2 separate regions of the Homo sapiens genome follow, and region 2 is linked to region 1. The links are contacts of gene promoters, found by promoter capture Hi-C in blood cells and fetal thymus (Javierre and others, 2016). All regions are on one chromosome and are shown on one strand. The core of a region is centred on a gene start or on the middle of the fragment in contact, and the rest is flanking DNA. Distances in the headings are between cores, read along the strand shown. Region 1 holds the start of DRC5 (dynein regulatory complex subunit 5). Region 2 holds the start of MRPS18A (mitochondrial ribosomal protein S18A).

Region 1 (2,700 bases), core at 5-2,504:
GCTGAAGCTGAAAATTGGCACTTCAAAGCAGGAGGAAGCAGAGATGGAGGAAAGCCCTCCTTCCCTACCAGAATGAGTCCACCTCAGACAGCCAGACTTTGGACCTCTGCCTTTGTTCCTAGATCTCTGTTGCTAGATGAAGGAAAGGGCCTCAGGGGATCCATCTTCAAATCAAGGGCTCCCTGGCTACCAAATTCTGTCTAGTAAAAATTATTCGAGCAGCGTGGGCCCGCCTGGCATCATTTTCTGCAGTTTCTCATTCTAATTAAGGCACTGATGATTTGCTGGTAAGGCACTGCTGAGGGCTTGAAGGGACCCAATCCCGGGTGCCTGGCCCCTCACTGCTTGCAAAGCAGCATCCTGGCCACTGGGGCAGTAGCCTGTTTAGCAGTGCTCACCACAGGCCCAGGTTCAAGCTCCTCCGCGAGCGCCAAGATGAGTTTTGGCACCCCTGATTTATTGATGAGTTAACAGAGCTTCGAGATGTTCATCCAGGGTAACCAACTAGTAGTCCTCGGCAGAGCTGAAGTCAAAGCTACCCTTTGAAAGCCCCGCCACCCTGGCTGCCTCTCCCTTCCTGAAGGCCAATTTCTTTTTTTTTACTAGCCGTCCCTCTGGTCTGTCCCTCTCGCCCTCCAGGAGATCTGGGGCCCCAACCACATCTTGTCGCGCCAGGGCTGGAAGAGAGTTTGGCACAGGGCATGGACTGTGTGAAGGAGCGCTGTGTTGGCCTGGAACCTTCCTGCGTCTGGTACCAGACCTTCAGCTGGGGGAAAGGTGGAAGGTGCCCTCCCTCCCGCAGGGCCTAAGGTCAACAGGAGGCCTCACGGGAGTTCCAGTGACTTCTACAGGTGCCTTGGAGAAGGTGCGTCCACCCTCCTCTTCTTCCACAGACGCTTTTCCTGGACCAGCTCCCTATCCATTGCCACACAAAAGCTACCAAGAGAGCACAAGCACTCCAGACCAGCAGCCCTGCCCGACCCCCGCCTCCCGCAGAAAGCCCACCCGTTCCTAGACACGTCCCACGGAAGCACAGGGCATAGCGCAAGGCCACAGTCCCACTACCCGCAAAGCGGCCGCTTCCACGGAACCGTCCCGAGGCCGGGCCTGGCCACCCTGCGCGCGAGTAAGCCGCGTGCCTGGCGCGCAGCGGCAGCGGCAGCGGAGGAAGCAGCGGCGCGCTCGTCCTCCCGGCCCGGCCCGCTCCTAGCAACGCGGGGCGTCCCCAACGACAAAGACCTGCGCCGGCGCGCGGGACTCTGCGTGAGGCGAGCGCCGGGGCTCCCGGAGCGGGTGAGGCGACCTCCGGGAGTGGGGACACCCAGCCCCGGTCTCCCTTATCGGGGCCCCCTCTGGCCGGCTGGGCCCGGGAGCCCCTCTAGCGTCCTCTGCCCACACCGGCCCGAAGCCCACGGGCGGCCATTGCCTGGGTTGCGTTTTCCGTGGCGGGGAAGCGCCGGTCCGTACCCACGGGAGACCCCACGCCCTCCACGCGAGGACGCCCCGCGCCTCCTCCCCACCACAGTCACTGTCTGCAAACCGTCTGGCCCGGGGCTGGGGATCCGAGTGAGGCGAGGGGAGGGACTGGGAAGAAGAGGGGGAAAGTGGGGCATCCGTAGGGCGTGGAGGAGAGCGGTCCCAAGCCCTGGGGCCCTAGGCTTCTCCGAAAGGCCGTCCGTTCCCATCACCCGAGGGCTGTAATCCCTCCCGCGGGTGCGGAAGCTTCCTCATCTCCCTACCTCCCACTGCACTGCCGGTTTCCCTGGGTTACCAAGGAGAAGCCAGCGCCTCTACACCCCAGGTAGGATGGGGGAGGGACTCCTGGCCTTTGGAGCTGAGCTTCTCTGCTGGGGTGTCTGAGCTGAAGGTAGGGAGGAGGGGTGGGAGACTCCAGAGCCGCTGGAGTCACTTTTGAGACAACAGACCTGAGTGGTCAGGAGTTGGGAGGAGGCCAGCCCAGGGGCTGTGGTAAGTGAACTGGCGGTTTCACCCAGCCCAAGTCCAAGCACACGGGCCGAGGCTCAGTTGGAGAAAGTTTTTTGCCCTTCCACAAGTGGAATTCCCAACTTGGGAGTGACTTACCCCAAAGTAAGACATGGTGGGCATGAAGGATATGGAGGTGGCTGTAGACAAAAGCCCAGAGCCCTGAGAACAGAGGAGGGCTCTCCTGAGGGGATCTGGGGTGGGAGCGGCTGAGAAGGCAGAGAAGGCAGTCAGAGCAGTGGGTGCAAAGCCAGCTCCTGGGGAAGTGTCCCGGGCACAGAGGCGCTGTCTGCCCAAAGAGGGCCGGGTGTCTCCACTTCTCCACTAAGAGGAAGGGAGGAGGGGACAGTTGAGGACCAGAACTGTGATGCACAAGAAGGTGAGAATGCAAACCTACAGCATCTTCCTCGTGTTCCCATTAGGGCAGGTGGAAGGAGCTCCTACCCAGAATGGTTAGATTTAGCTGGGGACCTGAGGAAGGATGGAGAAGACCTGAGACTTCCTGTGGAGGGAATATGCCAGGGGCAGGAGAGCACCACTCTGCAGCACTCTGTTGGGCTCCTTGCACCCTCCAAAGGATGCAGGCAGTGGTCCAGCCTTGCGGAAGTCTCCTATACCCAGCAGTGAACTGGAAGAGGGAGCCTGGACTATTTAGGTCAGCACCAAGGGTATAACCCTGGGCTCCATATTGGTGAACAAGAGAGCTCATGAGCTGGA
Region 2 (2,700 bases), core at 184-2,683, 610 kb after region 1:
TCCCATCTTGAATCAGAGAAGGATAGGAAGAACTGAGTTGTGAATGATTTTCCTTTCCTGTGGAGCTCCAGAGGAACATCCTATACGTCTCACAAATCTGAAAGAGGAAAAACTGGCAGTTGTATTTTCTCTTTGGTACCATAAGCTTCCTTACAACACAAGTGAGTCCAACTTGTGAAAAGAGTCATCTCCATAACTGCTCTATTAACTAGCTTATGTTTATTGAGCCCTTTTGTTTTGTTTTGTTTTGTTTTGTTTTGTTTTTGAGACGGAGTTTCACTCTTGTCGCCCAGGCTGGAGTGCAATGGTGTGATCTTGGCTCACTGCAACCTCCGCCTCCTGGGTTCAAGCGATTCTCCTGCCTCAGCCTCCCAAGTGTCTGGGATTACAGGTGCCCGCCACCACACCCACCTAATTTTTGTATTTTTAGTAGATAGGGTTTCACCATGTTGGTCAGGCTGGTCTTGAACTCCTGACCTCAGGTAATCCACCCGCCTCAGCCTCCCAAAGTGCTGGGATTACAGGCATGAGCCACCACACCCGGCCGATCACTTATGTTTTATCACATCTAATCTTCAGGGTCTAGTCCTCCCCTAGGCCCTATAAAATAGATTCTACTCATTCATTCAACAAGTATATATTGTACTCTTATTATGTGTCAGGAACTATTCTAAGTGCTGGAGATGTGCGAGTCAACAGAAAACAATGTTCCTGACTTCATGGAGCTTACAGTCTGGTGAGAAGACACATACAAAACAAACATAAAACTGAAATTGTCCCAAGCACTAAGATGGAGAGGCATCTGGTGCTGAGAATGGGCAGTCAAGCAAAACTGTGGAAATAAGGTTTGAGGTGAGCTCTAAGAAATAAGCAGAAGCTAACTAGACAGCTAAAGAGCAGACAAAGGAAATAGCTTGTATCAAGGCCCTGGGGCTAGAGAGAGGTCTAAGTATATGCAAATCAAAGATCAGTGTGGCAGTGGTCAGGGAAGAAGGGGGTATCAATTCTATCCCAGGTCTGCCTGATATCCGATACTCCAGAGCCAGAGTTCCTAACCATTTCAGCCTCTCCCGTAGAGGTCTAGCCCCAGTCACAGAAGCTAAAAGTCCACAGCTCACGTGCAGTGAAGAGAAAGCTTTAAAGACATAGGTGGGGTGTTGCGTGCGATTTTCCTAAGGAAGCCTTCCAGGAAACGAATGCAACCTTGAAGACTTGTAGGCATTGGCAGACAGGAGCTAGAAGACCTCCCCTAGATCCTTAACACGAAATATAGGCTTGACGCAGAAGCCTCTCTTCGTATCCCAAAGCGGACAGGTGAGAGAAATGATGTGACAGGAGCAAGCGAACTACAACCCCGCCCCGCCGTTCCTGCCCCACCACTGCGGCGGCGGGCGCTACGTTCCGGAAGCGGAAATGGACGAGAGGTCAGGGTAGGTTTTTGAAGATGGCGGCCCTCAAGGCTCTGGTGTCCGGCTGTGGGCGGCTTCTCCGTGGGCTACTAGCGGGCCCGGCAGCGACCAGCTGGTCTCGGCTTCCAGCTCGCGGGTTCAGGGAAGGTGAGTCATGCGTCCCAGCAACCTCCTGAAATTAAGAAGAGCGGCAGAGACTGCTTCCGCCAGCCCCGGTGCGCTCCTTCCTACCTTTCCTTCGTCCGATTCTGAAACTTTGGAGGTACCGGCTCCCCAGGCGTGCTTAAAAGCCCCTTCCACACCCTGGTGCCTTATCTTGATCTCCTGCCCCTTGTGAGTATCTTCACAAGGCGGAGGAGGACGGAGAGAAAAGCCTGCTTACTTAGCAGGAGCAGACACTAAACCTGTCCTAGGGCTCAGAAAAGTTTTCGGAAAGGGTTTGCATGTTAATTCTTCCTTCCATGTTCTCCGAATCGCAGTCTCTTTTATTAAAGAGTCTCTGGATCACGAAGGAAGGCCATCTGGGTACCCTCCCAGAGCCTCCCTTTCCACTTTCCCTTCTCAAAATGCTGTGATCTGATGGCGGCGTTCTCTGCCCCGGGCCGCTAGTCTCCCTGTGAGGGGGAGGCCAAAGTGGAAAGGCCATTGAATAGCTGAGACATAGGCAAATGCAGGATGGTAGTTCAGCTTTTCATTAATCTTAATCTGGGAAAGCGGCCTGATTCGAGCATCAACTGAGAGTTTACTGAATGCCAAGTGCTATGCTTCAAGCTGTGAAGGAATTCTGGAGACAGAAAATACAGCCCTTTTTCTGAAAAGCTTAGGTTCTAATGAGATTATGTATATACACACTCCAATAAATGCAAGTTAGCCTTTTACGTGACGAAGTACAGGGAGACTCAGTTACTGGAAACGGCAAACCCAGTTGGAAGTTTTCATAAAGAGGATGTGTCTTGAGCAGGCTCACAAAAGGATGGAATCTGGCGGAGAGTGAAACGGTCTTTTAGGACATAGCCTTCCTTTGTGTACTCCTGGAAGCAGGAAAGGATGAGTGATGTGCAAAAGAAGAGATGTGGGGTTTTTTGAGGATCTGGCATAGTATTGGGCAGCATATCCTTTAACGAAAGCTGAGAAGTATCCAGTGGAAAAGAGTGATCATTGTTGTCAGAGGGAGCAGAAAAGTCTAAAAAGGGCCTAATGAAGGGGCCATTGGATTTGTCTCAGAAGAGGTCTCTTTGTAGCTTTCAAACAGCAATTTCAATAGAGTGGCAAACAAGGAATCCAGTTTGGA

What was found. The method cuts DNA at HindIII sites, captures the fragments that hold promoters and counts their contacts. A CHiCAGO score of 5 or more calls a contact.
Region 2: a contact is called between the fragment with the promoter of MRPS18A here and the fragment with the promoter of DRC5 in region 1, in 4 of 17 cell types (megakaryocytes, activated CD4 T cells, M2 macrophages and 1 more). The highest score is 6.2, in megakaryocytes.

The regions. Positions count from the first base shown.
Region 1 is chr6:44,296,252-44,298,951 of GRCh38, reverse strand. DRC5 (dynein regulatory complex subunit 5) reads left to right here and starts at 1,254. Exons shown (of 5, transcript NM_182539.4): 1 at 1,254-1,293. AARS2 (alanyl-tRNA synthetase 2, mitochondrial) reads left to right here. Exons shown (of 22, transcript NM_020745.4): 22 at 1-221. RefSeq lists a silencer at 1,261-1,340. The HindIII fragment of the contact is 7,791 bases long and covers 1-1,724 here.
Region 2 is chr6:43,686,524-43,689,223 of GRCh38, reverse strand. MRPS18A (mitochondrial ribosomal protein S18A) reads left to right here and starts at 1,433. Exons shown (of 6, transcript NM_018135.4): 1 at 1,433-1,556. The coding sequence starts at 1,445. LOC124901320 (a long non-coding RNA gene) reads right to left here and starts at 262. Exons shown (of 2, transcript XR_007059586.1): 1 at 1-262. RefSeq lists enhancers at 1,063-1,674, 1,620-1,679. The HindIII fragment of the contact is 1,093 bases long and covers 1,138-2,230 here.